4 separate regions of the Homo sapiens genome follow, and all the other regions are linked to region 1. Evidence: promoter capture Hi-C in 16 types of primary human blood cells and fetal thymus (Javierre and others, 2016). All regions are on one chromosome and are shown on one strand. Each heading gives the region's core, a stretch centred on a gene start or on the middle of the fragment in contact. The rest is flanking DNA. Distances are from core to core; before and after follow the strand shown.

The links. The method cuts DNA at HindIII sites, captures the fragments that hold promoters and counts their contacts. A CHiCAGO score of 5 or more calls a contact.
Region 2: a fragment that was not itself captured here is called in contact with the fragment with the promoter of PAX5 in region 1 in 5 of 17 cell types (naive B cells, total B cells, endothelial precursors and 2 more); the score reaches 17.3 in naive B cells.
Region 3: a fragment that was not itself captured here is called in contact with the fragment with the promoter of PAX5 in region 1 in 3 of 17 cell types (naive B cells, total B cells and megakaryocytes); the score reaches 11.1 in naive B cells.
Region 4: a contact is called between a fragment that was not itself captured here and the fragment with the promoter of PAX5 in region 1, in 2 of 17 cell types (total B cells and naive B cells). The highest score is 10.4, in total B cells.

The regions. Positions count from the first base shown.
Region 1 is chr9:37,032,422-37,035,738 of GRCh38, forward strand. It overlaps PAX5 (paired box 5), which reads right to left and starts at 1,847. Exons shown (of 10, transcript NM_016734.3): 1 at 1,565-1,847. The coding sequence starts at 1,610. RefSeq lists silencers at 1,613-1,733, 2,000-2,179, 3,260-3,317, a promoter at 1,993-2,431 and an enhancer at 2,510-2,559. The HindIII fragment of the contact is 10,408 bases long and covers 1-3,317 here.
Region 2 is chr9:37,266,100-37,269,416 of GRCh38, forward strand. The region is part of intron 2 of ZCCHC7 (zinc finger CCHC-type containing 7); the gene reads left to right. Among named protein-coding and RNA genes, the nearest start is that of LINC01627, 130 kb to the right of the region's middle. The HindIII fragment of the contact is 5,335 bases long and covers 1-3,317 here.
Region 3 is chr9:37,244,356-37,247,672 of GRCh38, forward strand. All of the region lies in intron 2 of ZCCHC7 (zinc finger CCHC-type containing 7), which reads left to right. Among named protein-coding and RNA genes, the nearest start is that of ZCCHC7, 130 kb to the left of the region's middle. The HindIII fragment of the contact is 6,079 bases long and covers 1-3,317 here.
Region 4 is chr9:37,222,706-37,226,022 of GRCh38, forward strand. The region is part of intron 2 of ZCCHC7 (zinc finger CCHC-type containing 7); the gene reads left to right. Among named protein-coding and RNA genes, the nearest start is that of ZCCHC7, 100 kb to the left of the region's middle. The HindIII fragment of the contact is 4,326 bases long and covers 1-3,317 here.

The DNA of each region.
Region 1 (3,317 bases), core at 597-3,096:
CACTGCCAGGGAGAAGGGCCTTCTGAGAATTGAGGATGGAGAAGAGGAGTTTCCAGGTAACTTTTCCTGAGCCCTCATCCTGGGAGCACTCTTCTGCCTCAGATCTCTGCCCTCACTTCTCTCCAGCCACAATTTTGGAAACACAGTTATGCCCCAGAAGTTGTCCTGGGCTTGGGGTCTAAGTTTATCCTTTTTGCTCTTAGGCTTGTATTTGAGGCTGGAGGAGAGATGGGGGTTCTCAGAGGGCACAGAGATGGGGGAAGGGGGCTTCTTGCCAGGGCCAAGAGAGTGTTTGTGTGGGAGTTACACAGTGGCCTAGTGAGTGAAAGAGGCCCCCCATACCTGATTCATGCCTCAGGGCAGATGGAGGCCTACTGTCCCTGCTATCTCCTCTCAGACATAAACACATCCTGCTACCTACTTCTCAGGCCTGTGGGAGGCACATGGGGACCTAAGCCAGGGAGGCCTGTGCGCATACAGGCCCTAGAGCTGAATGCCCAGACTATGCACATGCATCCACCCACTGTGCTCTCCTCCACTGGTGCGGCACCCACAGGATAAAACCTGAGGACACAGTGTGTGTGTGTCTGTGTGTACACACAAATACACACGCCAGTGTCAGAGGCTTGTCTAGGTGAAAGTGAATGTAGGCTGGGGGTCCCTAGAAATGTCACAACTAACCCTACAGGTGTCCGCTGTCATCTGCAAGGTTGTGCCTGCCACAGGAGACCTGTTTGTACAAATGGTAGCCTGAACAGTGCTCACTGCACACCAAGAGGCTGCATGCCCTGAATTCACACCTTCATTCCTGGTCCTATCTCCCAATAGAATGGACACTGGGCCTTACAATGCACATGCTAAACACCACGGATCTCCATAGGCCCCAGACCCACGTCTAGGAGTTTGCCTAGAGACACAATGTGAACATTGGCGTGTATGCATCGGACAGCCGTTGACATCCAAAAATGGAAAGGTCAGTGTAGCCACTTCTTTCTCACATCCAAAAATCACTTGGGATATAACAGGTGAATGCAGACCCTTTAAATAGTGGATGTACACTCAGATATTTCCGAATTACATAAATAACACTCATAGTAGACACACATTTTGGATACCCAAAAGAATATACACAAGTACTAACTTATAAACACACACGAATACCCCACGAGTATAAAGATACACACACACACACACACACACACACACAGGCAAACAACTTTTGGACACAAACTCATATATTTTTACATCTTTTAAAAATACATATACTGTAATGAACACACTGAGTCCCTTATATAAACACACAGGCCCTAACTTGCAGACCCCCGGAAGGACGCCAGCGTGAACATTCAGAAACAGAGAAAAACACAGACAAACTCACAGATATTTGGACTGATGCAGAAGTGTGTGAACAGATAGGTGAAAAAACATAACAAACACGCCGCAGTTAGACAGTCTCTACGAAAATGCGGCGCGCCCCCTCCTCCTCCAGGGTCACCCTGCGTGGGGACCAAGGCCTGGCCGTGTCCCGGAGTTTGCACATCTGGAGCCCGTATCGCGGTCCTACCTGTCCTGCTGGTCCGAGGAGTCGGATAATTTTTCTCTAAATCCATTTTGATTTTTCAGGACTTGATGGAATGGACAGGGAAAAGTTTCCACTTTTTTGTGCCTTTTTTTTTCTTTTTTTTTTTTTTTTTTTTTTTTTTTTGGTGCCAGGGGCCGCTCACAGGTCGGAATAATTCAAGCCTTCCGCTCCCCCGCCGAGCTGGGGTAGCTGATCACTGAGCTGAAACTAAACGTTTTAGGTGGAAAAAAAGCGTCCGAAGGCACCGTGAAATGATTAAGGAACTAAAGAGCTTCTCGCCATGTGAGATCATGTCCTGTTCTCGCCAACATCACAAGATGTCCCCAGACACGCCGCGCCCCCAGCGCGCCGCCCCACACTGCCGGCCCGGAGCGAGGAAAGGGTAGGCGCTGCGCGGCCGGGCCTGCTCAGCGCGCCAGACGTGGCGGACCCGGCCCGGCCGGAGTAGAGCGGGAAGCCGGGAGAGCAGCAGTGCTGCTGCCGCGCCGCCCCAGACTTTTATAGGGGTTGGGGGGAGGGAAGGAAGGCTTCAGCCTGCGCCGGGCGCTAGCCAGCGCACCTACGGGAAGGGGCAGACCGAAGCGGAGCCCGGGAGCCCGGGTCTTCCAGCCGCACCTTCTATTAAGACATGCGCTTGGGGGTCGCGGCCCTCTGCGCTGTGCGCGGGGCCTGTGACATCTCCATGTGCAAACCCCGCTGCTTAGACGAGCGCAGGCCGGGTTTTTGTTTTTGAAGAAATTAACTGCTCGGCCAAGCAGGTGCTTTTGAAAGGGGTTGCAAAGGCTGGCAGTGTTGCCAGGCACCGAGGCGACGTTCCGGTTTACTCCGATTCACCCCTAGGGCGGCGCCCGACCCCAGGGTTCCCAGCCATCCAACCCCCACCCCAATTTGTTGGGGTCCTGACTATTGCTGGGCCCCTGACCCTAGGGCAGCGCCAGATCCCTAAAGCCCCCAGGTCCCATCCAGTCTTCTAGTCCCAGAACCCCTCCCCACATCAAGTTCCATTCTGGCCCAGAGCATGGAGGTTAAGCTGTGAAATACTGGAGATGAAATCCGGGCTTCCGCTTTGGAGCACCCGGGCAGAGCAGAACATCTCAGTAGTTTCTGGAGATTGGCGGGAGTTCCAGACACCTTACCCCGGCCCATAAGTGGAATCGCATTGCCCTCGAGCCCTGAGACGTTGTGGAGTCCCAGAGCCCCAGGACTTGATTCCAGAGAGGAAATCAGATCCACAGAGACCGAGCAGAGGTGTGGCATGTCCAGCCCTCTCTCTTCGGGCCAGACTCAAGCCTCCCCTCCCTGTTCCCCTCCCCAGCCTTGAGTTAGTTCAGCTGCTGGGCCTAGCCACTGAAAGCCTGTGGGGCCCTGCAGCGGGGTGGTCGCAGGGGAAAGGTTCTCCAGGGCGGGGGAGCGCTCCGTAGGAGGACTCCTGGCCCGCCGGACAATGGCAGTTTTGGAGAGTGAATCGTCCTCAGCAAGAGTGTTGTTTGTTTTTTGGAGGGGGTGGTCACGAGGCTGGGTCGCAACCTAGGGGGAAGAGCCTAGAGCTCGAGGAAAGGGGGGCCCCCGGCGGCAACTGGACATCACATATCCACTGAGCAGATTTCGCCACAATCGGAAATGTGGCTGTGGATTCCCGGGCGGCCCCCCCACCAAGTGGTCTGCGCAGTTCCCCAGCGCCGCCTCCTCCCTGCAGCCTGCGGGCCCGTGTCCCTACCCCGAGATTTGATTTTTG
Region 2 (3,317 bases), core at 253-2,752, 230 kb after region 1:
AATATGGTAAAAACAACACTTTAATTCCTTTTTTAAACTAAAATGATTTAACCTACTTCATTTATATAGTTCATCCAAAAAAACAGAATGACCTTCCCAAATGCAAATGCTTAATATGTAAAGTTTAGTTACCATATTAAAGAAGATTCTGCACACCATGCCACTTAGGTATCAAGAAATGATGGTATGGCCAAAATGGGCAAAGGAAGAATGAACTATTACAGACAAAACTATGAAACTCAGAGGAGCTCATAGTACAACTGTAAATTTATTTGTTTTTTTAAATTTAGGGATGTGTAAAGAGCTATAAAGTTCTTGACAGGATTTGATAAATCATCAGGGAAAGTAGTTAATGCTTTAGGGTAAAACATTTTAAAATACAGCTTTAAAAATATATAAAAATAGAGCTTTACACTCCTGTTATTAATTTTTAATTGTCTCTTTATGATGCTAAGCATGTTGGCACTAGACTCAGTTTTAAAAATGTCTACCAGCTTGGCATGGTGGCTCATGCTTGTAATCCCAGTACTTTGGGAGGCTGAGGTGGGAGGATCACCTGAGCCCAGGAGTTTGAGACCAGCCTAGGCAATATAGCAAGACTCCATCTCTACAAAAAACAGAAAAATTAACCAGGTATAGTGGTACACACCTGTAATCTTAGCTACTTGGGGGGCTAAGGTTGGAGGATAGCTTGAGCCGGGATGATCAAGGCTGTAGTGAGCAATGATTGCATCACTGCACTCCAGCCTGGGCAATGGAGCAAGACTCTGTCTCAAAAAACAAAGTCTAACAGTGATGTATATGTTATACCAGTGTTATTTGGAAGATAACTTGAGACTTTTCCCATGCATACTGAATTTTTGGGAAATAAATTTAAGTTTTTCTGTATAAATGGTCAAAAAAATGTTATATTGAGAGAGAGAGAGGTATACTATCCGGAATACAGTCTGTGGGATATGCCTGTACAATTAATTTATCCATTCAGGCCCAGTTTCAAAGGCTTTGGAAGATGGGTTGCAAAGTTTATTAATCCTCATCATTTCTTGGCTAAGATAATTAGTATAATATAAAAAGTCTTTGATTCTCTATTCTGATGACCTGTTTTGATCCTTAGAGACAGAACTAAGGATTAAGGTGAGATGAATCTTCTTAGTTTACTAGCCAAAACAGTATACTCAGCCCTAGAACAGAATTCTCTGTCGCTTGTATTTAGCATTCCCTCTTGCTGAAAGTGTTCTTCTCTTTTTATATTTATGATTTCTATTAATGAAATTGCATCTCTGTCTCCCATTTGGTGGTGGGGGGGAGACAGGGGAGAAGAACAGGGCCTTGCTCTGTCTCTTAGCCTGGAATGAAGTGGCATGATCACAGCTCACTTCAGCCTCGACCTCGACCTCCCAAGCTCAAGTGATCCTCCCACCTCAGCCTCCTGGGTAGCTGGGACTACCATGCACGGCTAATTTTTTCTTTTTTTTTTTTTTTTTTTTTGAGACAGAGTCTCGCTCTGTCACCCAGGCTGGAGTGCCGTGGCATGATCTCGGCTCACTGCAAGCTCCGCCTCCCAGCTTCACGCCAGTCTCCTGCCTCAGCCTCCCGAGTAGCTGGGACTACAGGTGCCTGCCACCACGCCTGGCTAATTTTTTGTATTTTTAGTAGAGATGGGGTTTCACCGTGTTAGCCAGGATGGTCTCGATCTCCTGACCTTGTGATCCACCCGCCTCGGCCTCCCAGAGTGCTGAGATTACAGGCGTGAGCCACCGCGCCCGGCCTAATTTTTTCATTTTTTATAGAGACAGGGTCGCACCATGTTGCCCAGCCTGGTCTTGAACTCCTGGGCTCGAGGGATCCTCTCACCTTGACCTGAGATTACAGGTGTGAGCCATTGGGCCCAGCCTGCATTTTCTTGAAGTTGAAGATTTCCTCTGTGATCACATCAACCCAAGATTCTCTTTCTCTAAGCCCTATTAGCATTTCTTATAATGCCATTCAAGTACCATCACTAACTTGATTGGAAGTTCCTCAGAGCAGGGACTGTGTTTCAGATTTTTTGTTCCCCACAGTGCTTAACACAGAGCCTAATACAAAACAAATTCTGTGTGAATTTTTTGTGAAAGCTCTTGGTATCTCTAATGTGCTCTCAAAACCAACTACTATTATAAGATAATTAGATTTTACTCACTACCAGATTTCTCTACCTGGCCAATAAGGTTTGCAGAAGTTCCAGACCTATCAGGTGTTTATTTGCAAAGAAACAAAGTAGTAAACTTCAAAAGTCATGAATGTACTCTTGAGCCCTGTCCTCACAGAAAAAAAAAAAAATAAGCAAAATTTCTATTTTTTTTTTTGAGACAGAGTCTCGCTCTGTTGCCCAGGCTGGAGTGCAGTGGCGCGATCTGGGCTCACTTCAAGCTCCACATCCCAAGTTCACACCATTCTCCTGCCTCAGCCTCCCAAGTAGCTGGGACTACAGGCGCCCGCCACCATGCCCAGCTAATTTTTTGTATTTTTAGTAGAGACGGGGTTTCACCGTGTTAGCCAGGATGGTCTCGATCTCCTGAACTTGTGATCCGCCCACCTCGGCCTCCCAAAGTGCTGGGATTACAGGCGTGAGCCACCGCGCCCGGCCGCAAAATTTCTACTCTTTCCGAGGGGCTAATGCTGTTCTCAGCTGTGAAACTTTATTGTTGTCAATTCTGGCATTTAATTCTGAATAGGGTGCCATCACCTTCACTACTCTATTCATGTGGTCTTTCAACAAATGTATTGAATACTACTGTATGCTATGTTAGGGATAAGAAGTGACCCAGACTGCTATAAGGGAAAGATAAAACAGTAGTATGAGAGTGTATAATATTCTAACGTAGTATGGAGGCCAAGGAAGGCTTTTATGGTGACGTTTAAGCTGAAATCCAAAAGAATTAACTAGTCGAAATGGTGAGGCAAAGAGTGTTTTGATCCAAGGAAATAACATGTGCACCCTATCTACTAGAAGGGATGAATTATTTGCTTGCTGTCCTGAAGGTAGGCCATTGTGGCTTGAAAGAGTGTGAGAGAGAGCATGTAGGGCAAGATGAGGCTGGAAGAGTAAGTAAAGATCAGAAATTTCAGGCATTGTAGGCCATGTTAAGGTTTTGAACGTTATTTTTAGAGCAGTTGCTAATGAAGTATATGAAGCAGGGGTTATAGGAGCAGATTTCCATTGTTAAAAGATAGCTATGCTTCAGAAAAGAGAATGGTGAGAGGGCCTGTAGTACCTGCAGAAATACCAGTTAAGAGGCTACTGGGAGGCTGAGGCAGGAGGATCACTTGAGCCCAGG
Region 3 (3,317 bases), core at 246-2,745, 210 kb after region 1:
TAGTATAGTGAGGGTTATATTTTGTTTTAGGCAGAATGGTTTTTAAAATAGCCCAATTAATTACATAAATGGAAGTTAATTTATTTTATAAAACAGTTTATTTTAAAATAGCTTATCCATATGAGTTATTTAAAAGGGAACTAACTCTTAATGTTTTTAAATATGATTTGATTTATAATAAACTTCCTGGAAGTGAGGGAGGCCTTTAATCTTCATGTATTAAGAGAGGGTGAATAATAATGAATTATTTTTGCCAAGACAGTTTTTTCCTGTTAAAACCCAAGTAATCCTGCCATTTTCACATTTTTCCTTTTGTTCTAAAAAGAAGTGGTAAATGTTTTGCACTGTTTGTTGGCTATGGCTGTGTCATGAGGGTTCTACCATGATTGATCAGTGAGGGCCACTGTGTATTTTTCATATATATTCACTGTGGAATAGAATCCAGTGTTGAATTTTTTTTTAAGTCAGTAGTGAAGAATGGTGGAGAGCATTTGTTCCATTGAATAATTTATAATAGCTAATTTCCCCATAAGAAGCCTACCAAAACATGATAGATATATCTCACTTGGAAGAAAAGTTGTCTGTAAAGTGAATCAAATCCTATTTTAATATATCATATGAGTATATAAACCCCTTTTTCTCACTGATTTTATGGGATCAAAGTGGAAATTATTCTTGTAGAAAATGACTTGGTTTTTAAGACAAATCAAATTTTTAGAAAAGACTGATTTTCAAATACAGTAATATGTATGTCAGATTCTGAGTGCAAAGTAGATAAATATTTTAGATAGATAAAATTTTATATTTGGCATAAATTGAGTAACTTTAAAGATAAACTTTATTTTTTATTTTTATGTTTTGAACACAGTTATAGTCAGTAGTTTCAGATTTTCATCCTCTCCTTGAAATGTTTCAATAGAAAGGATATGTAACTCTTCTTTAATGTTCAATATTCTAGTACTTTAAAGAAGAAGCTATTTTTAAAAATTAAAAGACTGAAATAAAAGAAAGGAATTTCCATTTAAACAGTTGAAATTGTGATTTTAAAATATACTAGCAAATTATTAGATAAGCAAATAATTTCTTAGAAGCCATATAACAGTAAACTAAATTCAATCCAACAAACTATTGTTGAGCACCTACCTGTGCAGAGTGGACAATGTTAAGCAGTAGAAATGTGTTATTGCCTAAGAGTAACTAGTTCGTAGCCTAAGAGAGAGTCAGACACATAAATGGATACTTACAATACAAAGTGTAAGTACCTTGATAGATGAAAATATAGGACATCATGGGGACGTCTAGGACTCTGAATTCACTTTTGGGAAATCAGGTAAGACTTCTTTACTCCAAGACTTCTTTCCTCCAGAAGTCTTATCTGATTTCCCAAAACTGAATTAGGACCTGAAGAATAATTAAAATAAGCTAAACAGAGGAAGGCCTGGAAGAGAGAGAGTGTTGTTGCAGGTTCAGAGAATAGCAGGTATATAGCCCTATTGCTATTGCTTAAGAGATTTATGTATAATTTGGTGTGGCTGGACCATAGGTTTTAAAGGTAATGGAGAATAGTGAGACATTAGTCTGGATTGGTAAAGTGAGACCAGATTATGAAGGGATTTATAAGAACGATCAGAAAAATCAAGAATATCTCAAAGATATTTTTAGTAAGATAGTGACAGGATCATATTTACAATTTACAAGTCAGTTTGGCAGAAGGCAAAGAATAGCAGGGGTTGGGCAGATGATGGCAAGATCAAACTTAAAGAGACTGATTCCTTTCTAAAATAGATGAGAGGTCATGGTACTGTTCTTCTGGATAGTGAATACTAGAGGAGAATCAAGTTTGAAAGTGGACAAATAATAGTTTGTTTTTAACATTTGATTTGAGGTGCTTGTGGATGATCTAATTTGAGGTGTCCAGAAAGGAACTGGATATATGAATATAGAGCCAAGCTCAAGAGAGAATGAAGCTAGATATATAGATTAGGAAGGTAATCAGCATGAGAATGTTAACTGAACCCACAGGAGTCCACAAGGGTCTTCAGGGCTCTCCATCTTTAGCATCAGCGTATGATAATGATTTTGTTACCTAATTCATTATGTTTCAAATGTGAATGCATTGTGAAATATTTAATGTACTATACCAGTATAGGATATTATAAACTATAATGAAGAGTGCATTTACTAAACACATTGCTATAAAACTGGTGTAGTAAACTCTGGGCCAGTGTGGACCATCATTTGGGGCAGGAAAAAGAATCATGTATTTTTTCCCCTTTTCTAAATTGACATATTAAAAGTTGTACGTATTTAACATGTACAACATGATGTTTTGAAATATGTGCAGTTGGCTCTCGGTATCTACAGATTCAACTAACCATGGGTGGAAAATATATTTGCAAGTCAACTTTTTGTATCGATGGGTTCTACAGGACTGATTGCAGGAGCATCCATAGATTTTGGTAGCTGAGGCATCTTGGAACCTTGGAACCTCTGGATACTGTGGGACGACTGTATATATTGTGAAATGGCTAAATTGAGATGATTACCATATGTATTACCTCACATACCTGTTTTTTGTGATGAGAACACTTAAAACCTACTCTCTTAGCAATTTTTAAGAATACAGTGTATCGTTAACTGTACTCACCATGTTGTACAACAGATATCTTTAACTTATTCTTCCTATCTAACTGAAATTTTGTTATCTTTGACAGATACCTCCCCAACCCCCTCTCCACCAAACTCCTGGTAACCACCATTTTATTCTCTACTTCTGTGAGTTCAAATTTTTTAGATAACGTATATAAGTGGACATAAATGTACTTTGTGGATTTTTATATTCTGTCACTTAGCCTTTCACACCTCACTTCACAGCTTTGTGAAGGAGAGGTAGGTATTTTTATTGCTGTTTCCAGTTTAAAAATGTAGTGATATCAAGTAACTTTCCTGAAGTCTCTTGTTGCTCACTGTTGAGTGACAAAATAAAACTTTGAAGAGGGACCTGGGTAGAGAGAGAAATGAGCAAAAAACCATTTCAATGAGAGATCAGTGACCTTACTGCATTTAAGTGTTCTTAGACAGGAATTACACCATTTTTCAAATGTATTGTTTATTTAAAACTTGAATACCCCATCTGTAACTCTGTTCTAGGTGATGTGGTATCAGTACCAGAATGTTGTACTGTTTCTGAAAATTATTTTCAGTATAGCAGTTAAGGACATTAAGGCTTCAAAGCCATTGGTCCAGTTTTGATAAGAAATGAAGTTGGAAGTTGGGTGTAGTGGCTCACACCTTTAATTTCAGCACTTTGGGAAGGG
Region 4 (3,317 bases), core at 476-2,975, 190 kb after region 1:
GTGAACAATCATTAAAAACAAAATTGAGAGGAAACAGCAAAAAACCCACAAACTATGTGATTAATAAAAGGGCTTTTAGTCTAATTGTATAAAGTACCCTTAATCTAATTACATAAAATAGTCTAAGAAACCAGTAAAGAAACGCTCTAGTGGGGAATGTGGGCCAAGCATAAGAATTAGTGGTTCCTAGAAGAAGGAACATAAGGAAAATGTTTACCATCACTACTAATAAAAATCTAAGTGCCATTTAAATCTGTTAAGATGGCAGATCATGATAAAATGAGCATTCGTATACATATATATATGTGTGTATGTATGTATGTATATGGCTATGAGTTTTAGTGACTTTCTTGCTGAAAGGCAATTGGGCCATAGTTACCAAAAGTCTTAAATGTGGCTACTGTGGGCACACTGCCTATGAGGTAGCCCTGCTACGCAAGGAACAGTTTAAAAAAAAAAGTCTTAAATGTAATAGATACTTGTATTTGAATGTTTACAGTAGGATTATTCACAATATCCAAAAGGTGGAAACAACCCGTGTCTATTAAAAGATGCATAGAAAACCATAATGTGGTATCTACATACAACTGAATGTTACTCAGCCATTAAATGTAATGAAAATCTAATACATGGTACAACATGGATGAACCTTGAAAACTTTGTGTTAAGTGCAGTAAGCCTGACATAAAGGGACAAATTTTGTATGAGCTCACATAAATGAAATATCTTGAATAGGCAGATTAATAGGTAAAGAAATATATGAAAGGTTACTGGGGGTTGGGTGGGAGAAAGAAGTTGGGGGAGGTTACTTAAAGGGTAGTTTCTCCTTGGTGGTGATAAAAGTGTTTTGAAAATAGTAACAATGGTTGCACAACATTGTGAGTATAATTAATGATACTGAGTTGTACATTTTAAAACGGTTAAGATGACAAATCTTACGTTTTATATATTTTACCACAGTAAAAGAGAAAAATGACAAAAAATAATGTCACGTTTCACTTACAGGAATTTGTTCTAAGGAATAATAGAGTGTATGTAAGGTCTTTACTACAGAGTTGGAAACAACCCAGATGTTTAATAGTAATGAATTGTTTGCTGTGGTATAGTCTATAACCATTGACAGTGACTGAACAAATATTTAATAGAATATTATGATTTAACAAGTGAAAATATAGGTAGTAAAACAGCATGCACCCATTTTTCATTTAAAAAAATTTATGCCTAAAAAAGACAATGTTCTATTAAAAATTGAAGTGGTCTTCTTTGGGTGATAGGATTACAGAGGTTTATCAAATGCTTGTTTATACCCTGAAAATGTAAAACTTAGGTTCTGGTTCTTTTTTATTTTTATTCTTTTAAGGTAAAAGGAGATTTTTGTCTTTAAATATTAATAAAGGGGTCACAAACAGTATATTAATTTTTTAAAAGGAAAAAACTTTTTATAATTGATTATACCGCTTGCGAGAGTTTGAGATACTCTTAAGAATTCAGGTTAAACTTACAAAATCATTTTTAATACAGAGATCAATGAAAAATTATCCAAAGACATTAGCTCCATGTACTGGTAATTGTTACCAAAAGCCTTAAAGTGTACAATTTTTTAAAATCAGTGTGGCAACTATCCCAGGAATTGGAAGTCTGTGTTTCTTCCCCTAAGATTCAGGTCATGTGTGTATATGTGTGTATTTTAATTTTTAAAGAACATAGGAGTAATGTAGACTCCTACTTCTAGCCATGACAGAGTCCCAGGGACTGAATTTACACTCCTGCTTCAAACTAGAAAAGCAGTCTACAAAATAAAATAATTGTTTATAGACATTGGATAATAACCAGTATAGGACACTAATCTTAGAAGGGAAATAAAGTGACTTCTGTAGCTCTTCCCACCTTATTGCCTAGAGACAGTTTTGGTACAGGGAAGGCAGACATACTGAGATCTTGGGCAGGTGGCATCACACTACATTGAAGAGATAGATTTTGAAGTACAAGGAGGCCAAGGTGTCTAGAATTTGTGGATAAAATTACTAGAGAGTAGTGAGATGCATCAGGACAGAAGTGATGAGATCCACAAATCTCCACAAAACTCAATGAACCTCTTGAGAGTCTGAGCGAATACTCATCTGTGCATGTGTGACAAGAAATTACCCAAGGCTGAAGAAAGAATAACTGGAAAGGAGCAGGTGTAGCGATCCGTGGAGCTCATGCGAAACATTTACACCTATACATTTCTCTCTTAGCAGGGCTTTCACTGCATTCCATGTTTTGGCAGTAAAGCTGAAGAACATTTAAGCCAGACCAATCAGGAATTCAGAGAAAGAATAATTCATTTTATCCCTGGATTATTATTGAATTATTTTATTCCTATTGTGAATAATTCTATAAACATTCAAGTACAGAATTGAAGACCAATCAGGAATAAAATGAAAGAAGACATAAATTACCATCATTAGTAATGCAAGGAGGAACATCACACAGATCCTAAATTTTATGGAAAATCAATAAATTCAATAACTTAGATGAAATGGACAAATTCCTTGAAAGTTAAAATTAAGAAGAAATAGATAACCTAAATGGTCTTATTAAAGAAGGTGAATTGTTAGATTAAAATCTTCCAGTAGAGAAACATCCAAGTCCAGATAGCATTAGTAGTATATTATATCACACTTTAAAGAAGGAATAATACCAATTCTTTACAAACTCTTCCAGAATATATAAGGTAACACTTCCAAACTAATTTTATAAGATTTGTATTACTATTACACAAAACCCAGGCAAGATACTACCAGAAAGCTACAGATCTAGATCCTTCATGAATATAGACACAAAAAATTATTAACAAAATATTAGGAAATGAATTATGTAATATATTAAAAGATTAATATGTCATGATCAAGTGAAGTTCATTCTAGGAAGAAAGGTTGGTTTAACGTGAAAATTAAGCAACATTATTTACTGTATTAACAGACTAACAGGAAAAAAATGTTTTCCTCAATAGATGCAGATAAAGCATTTTACAAAGTTTATCACCTGTTCATGATAGATTAAAACAATAAACAAAAGTCTTGCAAACTAGGAGTACAAGGGGCACTTTCTTAATCCAATTCAAGGACCTTTTAAAAAACCTGCAACTAGTGACTGAATGCTCTCACTTTAAAACTGGGAAGAAGACAAGACAGTCCCTTCTCAGATACATTTCTACATTGTACTGGAAGTCAATTGTCTGGAAGTCATTGTACTGCCAGTGCAATAAGGCAATAAAAAGAAGCTGAAGGCAGACGAAATGGAAAGAAAAATATTAAATCATCTTTAGTTGCAGT